Regions from separate parts of the Homo sapiens genome. Here all the other regions are linked to region 1. The links are contacts of gene promoters, found by promoter capture Hi-C in blood cells and fetal thymus (Javierre and others, 2016). All regions are on one chromosome and are shown on one strand. Each heading gives the region's core, a stretch centred on a gene start or on the middle of the fragment in contact. The rest is flanking DNA. Distances are from core to core; before and after follow the strand shown. Region 1 holds the start of COL4A2-AS2 (COL4A2 antisense RNA 2). Region 2 overlaps LINC00567 (long intergenic non-protein coding RNA 567). Region 3 overlaps COL4A1 (collagen type IV alpha 1 chain). Region 4 overlaps COL4A1 (collagen type IV alpha 1 chain).

What was found. The method cuts DNA at HindIII sites, captures the fragments that hold promoters and counts their contacts. A CHiCAGO score of 5 or more calls a contact.
Region 2: a contact is called between a fragment that was not itself captured here and the fragment with the promoter of COL4A2-AS2 in region 1, in 3 of 17 cell types (naive B cells, total B cells and activated CD4 T cells). The highest score is 6.5, in naive B cells.
Region 3: a fragment that was not itself captured here is called in contact with the fragment with the promoter of COL4A2-AS2 in region 1 in 1 of 17 cell types (endothelial precursors); the score reaches 6.5 in endothelial precursors.
Region 4: a fragment that was not itself captured here is called in contact with the fragment with the promoter of COL4A2-AS2 in region 1 in 1 of 17 cell types (endothelial precursors); the score reaches 15.3 in endothelial precursors.

Annotation. Positions count from the first base shown.
Region 1 is chr13:110,462,037-110,465,373 of GRCh38, reverse strand. COL4A2-AS2 (COL4A2 antisense RNA 2) reads left to right here and starts at 2,087. Exons shown (of 5, transcript NR_171022.1): 1 at 2,087-2,351. COL4A2 (collagen type IV alpha 2 chain) reads right to left here. Exons shown (of 48, transcript NM_001846.4): 23 at 3,188-3,260; 24 at 2,990-3,096. The HindIII fragment of the contact is 13,540 bases long and covers 1-3,333 here.
Region 2 is chr13:110,806,852-110,810,623 of GRCh38, reverse strand. LINC00567 (long intergenic non-protein coding RNA 567) reads left to right here. Exons shown (of 1, transcript NR_135280.1): 1 at 1-948. Among named protein-coding and RNA genes, the nearest start is that of LINC00567, 4.3 kb to the left of the region's middle. The HindIII fragment of the contact is 666 bases long and covers 1,558-2,223 here.
Region 3 is chr13:110,183,260-110,187,031 of GRCh38, reverse strand. COL4A1 (collagen type IV alpha 1 chain) reads left to right here. Exons shown (of 52, transcript NM_001845.6): 26 at 479-647; 27 at 3,756-3,772. Among named protein-coding and RNA genes, the nearest start is that of LINC03082, 56 kb to the right of the region's middle. The HindIII fragment of the contact is 9,885 bases long and covers 1-3,772 here.
Region 4 is chr13:110,203,090-110,206,861 of GRCh38, reverse strand. It overlaps COL4A1 (collagen type IV alpha 1 chain), which reads left to right. Exons shown (of 52, transcript NM_001845.6): 15 at 147-197; 16 at 1,324-1,368; 17 at 1,456-1,509; 18 at 3,255-3,296. Among named protein-coding and RNA genes, the nearest start is that of LINC03082, 76 kb to the right of the region's middle. The HindIII fragment of the contact is 1,113 bases long and covers 694-1,806 here.

The DNA.
Region 1 (3,337 bases), core at 838-3,337:
ATATACTAATGTTAAAGATCGCCTCGACTTCCCTGTTTCCTTTCCCATTTCCCGGAATTCTGAGCTATGGATCCAGAACAGAAAGACAACAGAGATGAACAGGAACCTAGTGCCATGGTCAGCCAGGTCACAGGAGCCAGTGACAGACTGTGTAGCAGTCTAAGCAATGCCACGGAAGCCGGTTCTGGAAGGCACATGTACATGCTTGAGCATTTCTCTCTTCCCACCCGCCAGCTCCCCTGCATCAGCCTGGGCCTTCATCTCCAGAACAGCGAAGGCACAGGCTTTTGTGTTCTACTGTGGGTGGAGAAAGAAACACATGATTTTGTTGTTATAATTTAGCATCGGTAAAATGGCTGTTATTTTAAGAGATGCTACGTTGTTAAAGGAAAGGAAGCTAATTTGGACAAGGAAAGAGCCGTGTGCGCCTCAGAAGTCAGGAGAGATTACAGGATTGGGAATGGAGAGGGGCTGCCCTGTGGATGAAAGCACCAGCTGCAGGGTGCGGGGGGGAGCTGGTGGGAGGTGCAGGGATGGGGTGGGGAGGCTGGCAGCAGTGATGCTGGTGTGATCTGCGCACACACCACGGCACGGCTCGGTGCTGTCCCCACGTGCTGGTGGAACAGCCATGCGCATAAGCTCCCGCTCATCTGCTGAGCCACGGGACGAGGCTGGGTGTTCTCATGACAATGAGGCAGCTGCTTATAAGAAATCAAACCCTGCTCTCCACTGACACCACAGCCCCTTCCTTGTCAAAGGCATGACGGAGCGGGGCAGGGACACCGGTCCAGCTCTATTTATGAGACCTTGATTAAGTGGTGTACCCCTGTGTTTTAGCTTTTTTTCACAGGGGAGGGGGACACAAGGCTGTTGCAGAGATCACAGGGCAGATGCCCCAAACTTAGTGGACAGCAGTGGGGATGATGCCACTGGAAGGTGGCACAGGCAGGATCACGAGTTTTCTAAAGGCAGAAGTTGACATTCTTGGTTTAGAGATGCCACCAAACAAGGAAGGCACACAAGCACTGGGAAAGTCCCTACACCCCGAGAATGGGAAGCTGAGGCTGCAAGGTTCTCCCTGACCCTAACCCTCACCCCTACCCCTAACCCTGCTCCGACCACCTGCCCCCAGCTGGGCTGGGACTGGCAGCCAGGCTTGGGAGCCGCAGGGGTGGGTGAACCCCATGGCTGGACAGGTGCACCTCCTGGTCACCAACTTCACAAGGCACCAACTCCAGGGAAGGCCACCACTACCGTAACAAATCCAGACTCAAACGGACCACACACATACACACATGAGCACACCACACACCACACATACACTCACCACCCCCACCCCACATGACACTGAACAGGCCAAAGACTGTTCCAACCACAGGAATCATCACTCATCCTCCTCTTCTGGCTAAAGTGACCAATTATGACTTTGCCTCTTATTTAACCCTGTTGCCTCCCAGATGAGATTTTTAAGATACCCAATCATAGAATTATCTGTGTTCTCTGGCCCCAAAAAACTGCACTTAAATTGTAAAAATGTGGGCCGGGTGTGGTGGCTGATGTCTATAAAACCAGTGCTTTGGGAAGCCAAGGCAGGAGAATCACTTGAGCCCAGGAGTTTGAGACCAGCATGGGCAACATAGAGAGATCTCATCTCTACAGAAAATTTTAAAAATATTAGGTGGGTGTGCTGGTGTGCACCTGTGGTCCCAGGTACTCGGGAGGTTGAGGCAGGAGGATGGCTTGAGTCCAGAAGTTCGAGGCTGCAGTGAGCTTTGATTGTACCACTGCACTCAAGAGTGTTATTACAGACATGACCCACGTTAAAACTAGAGAAGACATGGGTTATGGAATGAGGCAAATAAGCTGCGAATAGAATTCAGGCGTGAGGCTCTGAGGAGGAGAAAGAGGATTATGACTTCAATCGTCCTCCAATGATGCTGAAGTCTTAACCCCCAGGACCTAGACATGTGACCTTATTTGGAAATAAGGTCTTTGAGGGTGCTCAAGGTCAGATGAGGTCTTTAGGATGGGCCCATTCCAATATGACCGCTCTCCCTATAAAAAGGGGAAATTTGGGCCCAGAGACAGACACACAGAGAGGACAGATGATGAGAAGACAGAGAGAAGACAGCCGTCTATAAGCCAAGGAATGCCAGAGCTCCGGGAACCTGGGAGAGAGGCAGGGACAGATCCTCCCGCACTGTCTCAGAAGGAACCAGCCCTGCAGACACCTTGATGTCGGCTTTCAGCCTCCAGAGCTGTGAGACCATACATTTCTGATGTCTAAGCTGCCCAGTCTGTGGCAGTTTGTGACCTCAGCCCCAGGAAACCAGTACAAAGAGCTTAAGGAGGTACAGGCTTGGTGACTAGAGGGAGGAAAATGGAATCTAGAAAAAAAGACGTGAGAAATAAGGTTGCAAGGTCCTTCTGAGAAGAGAATGCTCCAGAGCTGGCAGTGGGAAAGGCGTGGTGGCAGGAGAGGCTCAGAGGCTGGAGGGTGCACAGGAAGGGGTCTTGTCTCCCTCCATGGCTGCCTCCCGCGCCTCTGACCCCAGCCTCCCCTGAGGAAATGATGCTGGGGTCTCTGCAGGCTACTAGGTAGCCCCTCCTTCAACACCAGTGTGTGTTTGTTGCAAAAATGAAATTGTATATTTCATGATTTACCTTGGAAAAATAGGGTTCCACCACCCATTTTAGAATAGTCTACTTTTTTTGGCGGGGGAGGGTTCTTAGTCTGTTACACCAGGAGGAATATTTCTTTGATTGTTGACTTTTAAATGTTCATTTGGAGCTTGGCTTCTAACTTAATTCACCGTTTCCTAAAAAGTCTGATTTCTGCTCATTAGAAATAGAATGAGCAGAATGAGCAGCCTGTCCTATGCACAGGTTGGTTTAGTGCTCATGTCAATACTGTTTGCTTCTGGGGTGTTTGGAGAACCTGAAGGATGAAGAAGAGAGGACGGAGCTGCCGCAGTTTGTGGCTACTCACGGGAGGGCCTGGGAGGCCGGGGAATCCATCGAGCCCATCGCGGCCTGGGCTGCCATCGTCACCTTTCATCCCGGGCACACCTGGGACGCCGGGCTGTCCCCGCTCACCTAGAAAGGGATTTGCATGTGAAGCTGCCCAGGCAGGTGCCCACAGGAAGGCTCAGTGCCCCAGGGGCCGCGTGGCCAGAGAGGAACTCACCTTTGGTTGTGATTGTTCTGGAATCTCCTTTTGCTCCTTTGGGTCCGGGAGCACCAATGTTGCCAGGCACTCCCTGTGGAAAACAGACAAAAAAATATCTTCCTTCTTTGTACTGTGAGGGCATCTGAGAAGATGGCTGGCAAGCTTTTT
Region 2 (3,772 bases), core at 641-3,140, 350 kb before region 1:
AAATATATGTCATATATACACATACATACGTGTATACACATATACAATATATTATATGAGTGACAGTATCCTAAACATACCTCACATTGTTTTTGTTTGTTGTTCTTTTTTTTTTCTTTTTACTTCTTCACATTAGTTTTTTTAACTTTCTATATTGGAAATTGTTTCATTTCAGCACATATAGCGCATCCTCACTCTTTGAAATGGCTTCATAGCATTTTATTGTATGGCAGTACAAATATTTGTTGAACCATCCCCACTAACAGACATTAAATTATTTCCGTTATCTTGCTTTGACAAATACCACCGTGCTCAGTGCACTTGTGCAGGAGTCGTTCTGCACCCTTGGGGTAGATCCATAGGCTAAACACCTAGAGTTGCTGGGTTGAAGACGTCATGCGTATTAAATTTTGTTAGCTGTCGTCAAAGAACCTTCCATGGAAATTTTACCTGTTTACAGTTCCAGCAGCAAAGATAAACTGCGCATTTCCCCCCACCCCCCCGCCCCAACCATCTTTACAAATACAGTGTGGGAACAAACTTTATTTGTACTATTCCTTGCCAATCTGATAAGCAAACAAAATTGTATTTCAGTGTTGTTTTAGTTTGCGTTCTTATTGTAAGGAGTTTGAGCACCAAGGAACTGGTTATGTATGTGTGTACAGTTTTCAGGTACTTTTTAAATTAAGTTACTGTCCTTTTTAAATATTGATTTTTAGGAATCAATATTTAAAACACACAACACAATTAACTGTTTTGGCCGTTTTCCTTTGATGTGAAGTACATGAATTTTTCCTAATTTATTATCATTTAATTTTGTTTCTGGTGATGTTTGCCATTCAGGAATATCTTAGTTTGAGGGGTGGGGAGTTGATCAAATTTCTCAATCTTTTCTTTTCTGGCTTAAAGATTTTGTGTCAGAATTAAAAAGGTCCTTTCTGAATCAGAGATTATTTAATAATTCTCCCAGTTTTTTCTGTTACTTTTAAGGTTTCATTTTTTTCATGTGTAAATTTTCCATCCATACGAAATTTACTTTGTAAATGTGAGTGGTTGGAATCCAGCTTTCTCTTTCAGATGATAATACACTTCTCCCACTGATTTCAAATGCCACTTTATTACGTAATAATATGGCATCTATTTTCTGGACTTCCTAGGTAGTTCCATCCCTCTATTCATGAACTAATGCCACATTATAATATGTTTTAATACATGGGAAACTTTATTGTTTTATTTTTCAGTATTTTCCTGGGTTTTCTTGATTGCTTAATATCTATACTACTATTTTAAATAATTTTCTATTTTCAAAAATTATATACTCACATAGTTCAAAATAAAAATAAATCAAAATGAGAGCCAATGAAATAAATCTCCCAGTCATTCCCCCAGTCATCCTATTTCCTTCCCAGGGAGCAGCCAATGGACTCCATTTCTCCTGCATCTTTCCAGAGACAGTTCATGTAAATCTCATATGTATGTGTCTTATAAAGTTTATAATTGGTTTTTCTCATTTTAAAAAATCCTCAACACTTCTCGTATTTTAAATGGGATCAAGCTTAACTTATAAATAAACTACAGAGAAGTGATTTCTGTATGATGAGGTAGATTCCTACCCGTGAACATACTATGGTTTTCCACTTGTTTTATCCTCTTCTTTATCTTGAAGTACTTTGAAGTAGTAGTAATATCCTGCAGTATTCCGAGTAGTTGTTGTTATTATAAAAGTTGTCCTTTATTCCATCAGATCTTCTGTTTGTAGTTGGCATAAATGGTTGTTAATTTTTGCCTATTAATTACACATATAATACATGAGATCCTACCCACCTTATTAAATTCTCTCAATTGCATGAAATTCTAATTAAAACAAGCTGCCGTTCTAGGACTCTGATGCCTTCTGTGTAGGGTGGCAGGAACGAATAAACAAGGAATGATTACATCTTGGAAAATACAGCACTTTACTGGCAGTCATATTCTGAGAACAACATACCACACAAACCAGGAGACCCCCAGGGACCCCCTGAGATCAAGCCCTCTCTGGCACACATAGCCCACTGCCCACTGTATCATAAGATTTGGTTTTTGCAGTTTGACCATGGTGTGTTTAGATTTCTTCTTATTGAGGCTGCTTAGGTTTTGTGGAGTTTCTTCAGACCTGCAGTGATTATATATAGCAAGGTTTGAGAAGAAACAGAAATGGATACTCTGAGTCATTTTGGAAAAGCTTACCAGGATCCTCAAGTTCTTTCCCTAGAAAGGTCTTGAAAAATCAATATAAATTCTTGACCACGTTTTTGGGTTACTTCCAACTGGAAAATCAGGTACTTTTTCTGGGCTCTACCAATGCTTCGCTTATTTTATGGCAATTTTTTTTTTTTTGTCTCTCCATCTGAACCTGTGCCAAGCCACCAGGCACCACTGCTCTCCAATGTCCACTTAACGAATCCCCCGCAGCTTGGACAATATTCCACAACCATTTCTTGGAAAGTGTATCATGACTTCTGCCTAAAAGTAACTTTTTATGTGGTGAAAACTTAAGCATATGGTTTGTCATTGGCACAGCTTTCCTTGGTCATGGTCTAATGCAGACCAAACTGGAAATAACCAAAGTTAGTGATTCTATTTGGTCATCCTCAAATGCTCAAGTGAATGAGGTCTTTTAGTGACAAAACTGCCAATGGAGGTAACAGCTACTCGCACATCCTTGACCAACACAGGATCCTCTCTCCCTGGCACCATCATCCTCATTGGCTTGTTCTCAGCTTCAGGAGATACTTTAGTAGCAGAAGAGGAGGGGGACCAGTCAAGCCAGGGGCAGGGCATGGGTTGGCAAATGGAGTTGAACAACTTGGGCTGTCTGTGTATGGACAATGGCCTCTCCCAGCCACATGTTCACAGCCCCCACCTGCCTGGGCCTAGGTCTCAGGTTCCCCTCCAGGTCCTGGTGCAGCCACTGTCCAGCACCATATGGGGCAGCCTCCCCAGATCTGGAGGGGGCTCCACATGCATTTGGGAGCCACACACACTCTGTCCTCTTGGACAGTGTGAGGCTTGTGTGCAAAAGCACCAGGACAGGTATGCCTGTGCTTGTATTAGAGTTTCAAAGCAGTCTCAAACATACACCCTGAGCTGCTCAGAATGGTAGGCATTCATTTATTTATTTTTGTTTATTTTAATCTAGGACAGCTGCAGAAAAAAATATATTCTCAATGCTAAATATACTCTTCCTGTTTAAGTATGGGTTAAGTTACAGAAGCAAACTAAAGTCCTCCTTCATCAGAAAGAAGGGAGAAGAAGAAATGAAAGAATCAAATGGGAATAGGCCTATGTGCTTTAAACACACATGTGATCTCATTTAACTTTCTGGATGGCCAAATGAAAAGGGCATTTTACTCTATTTTACAAATAAAGAAACCAAGATCTAGAGTAGTTTAGTGACTTGCCCAAGAAAGTAGGAGAACCAAGATATGAGCTCAGGTGCATCCAATCACAAAAACTTCCCAAGACTCCATTACAGCTTTTTAATAAGTTCTTTTGCATATGAGCAGAGAGATAAAGAACAAATACTTCCAAAGCAGAGGCAGTCCCAAGGCACCACTGAGAGTTTGGAAAGGGACCTCCAGCCACTTCCCAGGGGAATTTTGGACCCTGGCACCACTTCATAGGGAAGGTCTGAACCCCGGTTGTGCACCTTGGACAGGGGGGCTCTGAGCGCCCTGCTGTTTTGTCTGTCGCTGAACCTGGGTGCAGCTTTACATTCTAGGCTCAAAAACTC
Region 3 (3,772 bases), core at 1,273-3,772, 280 kb after region 1:
ATGGCACAAATGAACTTGTTTCATGATTCATGGTTCATGGAACAACTTAAGTCTATAAACCTAGGCATTGCCAGTTATTATTGACAAATAATTAGGTGATAACAGATCAGTGTCTTCTGATGCATTTGGGGGAACTGAACAGATGTGTTTGTGTATCTTTTTGCTTTGGATGGGAGGTGAAATCTAAAGTTAATAGTATTCATGTCATTGTTTTCAAAAGATTCCAGGTATCAACATCTCATTCTCTAAAGTATCTCCCTAAGTAGATGAGGGAGGAAGAATGCTCAGCTTAGGGAGAAGAATGCTGGTTTCACTTATTAACTACAAGGTGGCCCTCCTGGGAGGGTAGATGAAGTAAATAAATAGTGTGAGCCAGTTAACTCTAGTACTTATTGACCACAAATGTCAGAAGAATGCGATAAGGACAGGGTGTTGGTGTGTCTCTGATAACGGTGTCTTTTTCTTCTTCTCACATCAGGGTTCTGTAGGATTGAAAGGAGAGCGTGGCCCCCCTGGAGGAGTTGGATTCCCAGGCAGTCGTGGTGACACCGGCCCCCCTGGGCCTCCAGGATATGGTCCTGCTGGTCCCATTGGTGACAAAGGACAAGCAGGCTTTCCTGGAGGCCCTGGATCCCCAGGCCTGCCAGGTGAGGCCTGAGAAACTCGTGATGCAGCATGAAGTTGTAAACGGAGGTTAGGGCAGGCACCTCGGGTGCACACAGAGGCCTGGGGTTCGCATAGGCCAGGGCGCACACTTGGCTTTGATTCTTCCAGGAATTGGGGCAGGACCTGGGCAAGCCTTCAGCCTTTTGTGCCTCCCTTTCCTCATGTATGTGATGGGCCAGGTAATATGCAGGTGGAGAACTTGGGTTTACAGTCCTCATAAGTAAGTACACAGCACGCACCAGCTAAAGTCAGCCTTTGTATAGAAGTCACACCGAGGTCAAGTCATTTTCCTCTCCTTACCCATTTGGCTTTCCCCGATGAGCAGCCCATTTTGGCTTCTGTGCATCCCGAGTGGTGTGATCTCCACCTCTTCACAGTCGGCAGACGCCTGTGAATGGATTTAGAGGTCCTACAGCGCGATGACGATTTCATTCCATGGTGGTTTTAGTTGTCTGCTGTTTTTGGAGTGAATCACGCGCCAAGCTCTATGCTGAGCATTGACAACACATGGTCAAAACCACAGACGTGGTCCCTGCCCTCCTGCACAGCCTGTTCAGAGGTTTTCCAGAGAACCTGTAGCAGGGATGAGTGTGGGCTCCCTCGTCGTTCTCCTCTCCCACGACTTGCTTATTTTCAGGGCCAGCGGGAGGGGGCTGTGGCGCTAGGCCTTGCACACAGCAGGTGCTAATAGTTTATTATCTGACTGCGATTCCCAGTAGACATGGAGCACGCCTGTTCTTCCCTAGAAAATCCCGGAATGAGAAGAGGAGAGGCTAGGAATGCCTTGTGTGTAGATGAGGGAAGTAAATGCGCGTTGCTAGGAAACATTCAAAAGTTGTAAAAGTGAGTGAAAGGACTTAAGGTGATTAAAAATATCTAACTAGTAAACCTTAAAAAACATAGTTATTTATAAAGTAGCTGGGGCCAGGTGCGGTGGCTCACGCCTGTAATCCCAGCACTTTGGGAGGCAGAGGCTGGCAGATCACAAGGTCAGACATTGGAGACCAGCCTGGCCAATATGGTGAAACCCCATCTCTACTAAAAATACAAAAGTTAGCTGGGCATGGTGGCAGGCACCTATAGTCCCAGCTACTCTGGAGGCTGAGGCAGGAGAATCGCTTGAACCCGGGAGGCAGAGGTTGTAGAGAGCCAAGATCTCGCCACTGCACTCCAGCCTGGGTGACAGAGTGAGACTCCGTCTCAAAAATAAATAAATAAATAAATAAATAAAGTAGCTGGATATTTGAAATACCCAACAATAACCACGTTGGAGCAATTACAGCATGCCGTTCTGGCTCGCAAGTGTGCTGATTATGTCAATAACCATATTGAGCCTGTTTTATGAATTCCTATTCCCATTAGGGACTAATATTTCCTTATTAATATACAGTGTATAGGCTGGGCACGCTGGCTCATGCCTGTAATCCCAGCACTTTGGGAGGCCAAGGTGGGCAGATCACCTGAGGTCAGGAGCTCGAGGCCTGCCTGGCCAACATGGTGAAACCCTGGCATCTGTAATCCCAGCTACTTGGGAGGCTGAGGCAGGAGAATTGCTTGAATCCAGGAGGCGGAGGTTGCAATGAGCTGAGATCGTGCCATTGCGTTCCAGCCTGGATGACAGAGCAAGACACTGTCTCAAAAACAAACAAACAAACAAACAAAACACACACACACACACACACACAGTCCAGTTCCTAAGCATTCCAGTATGGGAAATGTCAGCCAGTGTTTGATGGAAGCCCAGGTGTAGTGTGCTAACATAACTGTTACTCTTATCCTTCTCCCTGTTGGTATAATCAGTGAGTACTTAGCATCAAGTTCTGACTCTGTTGATGGTTGTTCTTTGTTTAGAAGCGTCCCAGAAATGTCTCTTTTATGACTCCATTAGAGGTAGGGGATACCGGGTTTGATGGAGGAGGACTTCGGTGAGCCAGGCATAGGGACTTCCGATCACTTTCCCTTGGGTCTCTTGATTCCACAATCAACAAATCAAGTGCTGTCTTTGTGCTTGTGACATCTGCAGATTTCCAGAGCTGTCGAAGGGAATTAGCTTTTCTTTTGGCGAGAAACTACCATCAGAGAAACCAACTGGAGTACTCACAAATATACCCTAGCAGATGGGGAAGAAGGCTTCTGGGGAGGGGGAACAGGGCTGTTGATCCTCTCTCCCCACAGCTGTAGGGCTCCTTGGCCATCCAGAGCCAATTAGCTTCGAGATTAGAAAACAGATGTCTTTGATCTGCCAGAGCTGTGTGTAACTGTGGTAATCATAAAAGCCTGGTGCCCAGGGTGTGTGTCACCAACAGCAGGCATTTCCTAGGGTCGTTCAGTTGGCGTTTCCCACAGTCTGTAGCTAAAGAATGTGCTGGCTGTTCTAGGGAGGCCCCACATAGCTTGAACTCTTACGAGGTGTACGAAGATTCAGTGCGTGCATTCTTGGAGGGGAAGCCTTTGGTCCTTTCTTAACAGCGAAACCCTGACACTCCGGTGGCTCTCCTAGGCATGAGTGCCCAGAGGGCCGGGGCTGTGCTTCCTGGCTTGGGAGGAAGGATGGTTTTGCCTGTGTTGCTCAAGTGAGCGCAGAGCTCTCCAGCTGCACCATTACAGATAATGGATCGTTCGTAATCACCCGCGGATCATGTTGTTTGGATAATTTCCCACCAAACGACCGTAATTTAGGTCAATCTCAAAGCAACTTAGACTTTGGTAAATTGAGAGAGAACAGCAAAAGTATTTTGACTTTTTGAGACCGGCTCACTAAGAAATCACCTAGAGCCACCTCACATGTTGTTGTTGTAGATTTTTCAGCTTCTTGTGACTCTTAATTGTGGACTCTTAAGGGATTCTTGTGTCCAACAAACATCTTGGTCATTTTGGACATGCAAACGCATGGGGAGAAGCGTAGCTCTCTGTGAAAGATCCTAGAAACACCAAGGGAAGAAGTGGAGAACACAGGCAGAGGCTCTGCTCTCCGGGCACTCGTGGTGCTGGGTAGGATGTGGCGTGCAGCCCACCCACTGCGTGTCCTCCCTGTGTTCCGTGTGGTCCTCATTCCTTCATCGTTTGTCTTTGCTCTTTTTTTCCTCTAGGTCCAAAGGGTGAACCA
Region 4 (3,772 bases), core at 1-2,500, 260 kb after region 1:
AGTACTCAGTTTCTGCCTATCATTTTTAGGTCAAAGACCATAAAGATTTAAGTTTCAAGTTTTTTTCACCTTAAGTTTAATATCTATCTAATTTAAATTTTGCTTAAATAGACGAATAAATCTCTTTGTCTTTTTATTCCTTTAAGGGGATGCCAGGGGTCGGAGAGAAAGGTGAACCCGGAAAACCAGGACCCAGAGTAAGTGCTTTCCAAAGTCCTTTTATCATAAAACAATTCTCCTTCCATGCGGAAAATCGCAGATTCACAGAAACACAAGAACAGAAAAGGCTCGTAGGGACTTCTAGTTTATCCCTTTCATGCCCCGAAGGGCTTTTCCGAGACTCTCCTGAGCTATATCAGTTGCAAGGCTTCCCAGGCAGGCGAGGTCCTTCCCTGTTTAAGGATCCAGCACTGAAGGTGCCACCGCCGGCTGTTCAGAGAGGCTTCTGAAGAGCCCTGGGCCATCCCTGAAACCTTCGGTCCTGCTCTGAGAGCAGCAGGTTGGTTGGACTTTGCCACCCAGAACACCAGACAGTGTTTGCACAGCCACAAGCCTGAGAGGCTGAGTTGCTTTTCACTTTAGGGATGGTGGTGGCGTGAGACCCACCCCACTGCCAGTCAGCTGGGATGGTTCTGGTTTCTACCTGGAAGGAGCATGCAGAAACCTGCATTAAATGAAGCATTTGCATAAGCTTGCAAATACTCAGCTGCCAATAGGCAAACTTCTCTAATGTTAGCTTTGCTACCAAGATACAATCATATTTTAGAAGACTTGTAGCTCATCGGACTCTGCTCTTTAAAAATGGAGTTCTCTTATATTGTAACTGTTTCATAATTATTCATCATATACAATATTACTTATTATTGTGGTATTGTCAACTTACATAGAACCCTCATTTACCTTGCTTGTGTTTCATAGGAGAGACAACATATTAAGCTATCTGAATCAGAGCTTTGGTGTTATATCCGTTATTATATATATATACATATATATATATTTGAGACAGAGTCTCACTCTGTTGCCCAGGCTGGAGTGCAATGGTGTGATCTCGGCTCACTGCAACCTCCGCCTCCTGGGTTCAAGTGATTCTCCTGCCTCAGCCTCCCAAGTAGGTGGGACTACAGGTACCTGCCACCACACCCAGCTAATTTTTGTATTTTTAGTGGAGACGGGATTTCGCCATGTTGGCCAGGCTGGTCTCGAACTCCTGACCTCAGGTGATCCACCCACCTCGGCCTCCCAAAGTGCTGGGATTACAGGCATGAGCCACCGCGCGCAGTCTATTATTTATTAAATACTAACGTTTACATCTTTATTCTACAGGGCAAACCCGGAAAAGATGGTGACAAAGGGGAAAAAGGGAGTCCCGTAAGTGTTTCTCTGTGGTTTTTACAAGCAGGCTCACTGTTCCTACCACTGGCCTCTGACGGTTACTGCTTCTCTCTTCGGTTTCAGGGTTTTCCTGGTGAACCCGGGTACCCAGGACTCATAGGCCGCCAGGGCCCGCAGGTAAACGCTGGCACTATTGTGAGCCTTTATCTTCACTTTCCAATTCAACCCAGAAGTCTGTTTATTCTTTCCTAGAATAAAGGACTCTGTACTCAAGGGAAAAAAATCATTTATGCTTCTTCTGGGTAAAAACACAATTTAGTGGTTTCCTTTATGTTCATGATTTTTTACAAAATAAAAATATATGAAATGTGCCATTCATTCAAATTTTTATATCTTTTTTTGGTAGTAGATTATTTTTTTCCTGATCATAAAGCAATAGAAAATACAGAAAGATATCACGAGGTAAAGAAAGCTTACCTAATTTTTTCTGTTACCTGTTCAGAAGTGGCCAGAGTTCGCCTTGTTCCTATGTGCATACACAAGCAGGCAGTTTTTAAAGGTGATAGTGAACAAGACATCTTGCTTTTTCACGTAATGATAGAAGGAGGATCTATTTCAATGGCCGTCAGTGTAATTATGATGTGAACATCCATGCCTTTTGTTGCGTGGTATTTAGGCCATTTCCAAATTTGTATGCTTACAAGTATTTTTGCTCACTTGTCTGGTCATTTCTCTGTCAAATTCCTAAAAGCGTAATATTGGGGTCCACAGTCAGACACTTGTTTTGAAATTTTTGCCACATGCAACCAAATTGCCCCAGAAAGTCCTTCTGCCAGACCAGGGCCCTTTTAGTTGGGGAACTAACTAAAAAAAAAAAAAAATCTAAAAAATATTTGTCAATCTGACAGGCAGAAAAAAAAAACCTCATTATTGCTTTATTTTTCTCTCTTAATATGAGACTAGGTAATGTAAGTCTTTACTAATATAAGAGATAATTTTGGAATAGTCATCACCAAAGGCGAATGGAAAGCTGCGGGGAGGGCCTCAGTAGCCTACGGTTAATTTATTAAAGCCAGGGACAAAAGGAAGAAACCCTTGGCTGTAATTTTTTGAGGAAGTAAAATCCTGTACATTTTAAATGGTAGATATATTTAGAATATAGTGGCTAAGATATTTATGTCCTCTAGATATTTCTAAAATCTTCTGGTATTCATATAAGAAAAATCAAAACATTCAATTCTTGTTTACTGCCTTAATTTAAAAGGAAAATATATACATTCATGGTAAAATGTACATATCTTTGGACTGTTTAAATCATTACGATGACGTTTATATAAAAATATTTGATATGAAAGGGTTAATTTCTTTGAGTTTTTCATCTACTATGGATGAGATTAAACCTTAAAGTGATCAGAATTTATCCACTAATGTTTTCAGTTAATATTAGATTTTACATTATGACCTCCAATGCAAATTTGAGAAAATCTTCACCTAAAAACATCATATAAAATGATTTATTTAAGAAAATGTATTTGGAAATCATGCTTTTATATTATTTTATTTCATTTCTCTTTTTAAAATTGAAAAACCCTGGTTGCCAGTTCCGCTCATCAATGATTCTGTTTTCCGAGGAAGTGTGCAGTTGATGGGACAAGTATCTGGGCTTTTGTAAGGAGAATAATTAGCCCCCAACTTATATTTTGCAGAGATCTTTATTTTCATGTGTCATGCGTGTGCAAAGCAAAATGAAATCTATTCATTTTTGTTGTAATCGTCACAGAATGAGAGATATTAAAGAGAGAAAAATAGTTTTAATTTACTGTAGGCACACTCTATTTTACCAGAAGAAATGTTTAATCTGCTTTCTGCAAGACAATCTTTATAGTAAGAATATGCAAGGAAAGTTATTTTTTCTTTTGTAGGGAGAAAAGGGTGAAGCAGGTCCTCCTGGCCCACCTGGAATTGTGAGTAAGAGTGCTGTCCCTGGGTCTGTGAGAGCGCTGGGGGAGGAAGGAGAGGACCCTGGGTCTGTGAGAGCACTGGGGGGAGGAAGGAGAGGACCCTGGGTCTGTGAGAGCGCTGGGAGAGGAAGGAGAGGAGATGCAGGGCACACACCCACAGCTGTCTCTAGAATTGCATTTGTTATGTAAAGTGGTTCATGCTACTTGAAATGATTTTCTAATTTGTTGTACGGAGTTTCGTGTTTATTATTTTTATTATATTTTGATAATTTCTGCACATCTTTAAATCACTGAAAATGAAAAGGTTTGCACATGAATGAGAATATTAGCAACATATTTGACTCCTTTTTTTTTTTGAAATGGAGTCTTGCTCTGTTGCCCAGGCTGGAGTGCAGTGGTGCGATCTTGGCTCACTGCAACCTCTGCCTCCTGGGTTCAAGTGATTCTCCCATCTCAGCCCCCCGTGTAGCTGTGATCGC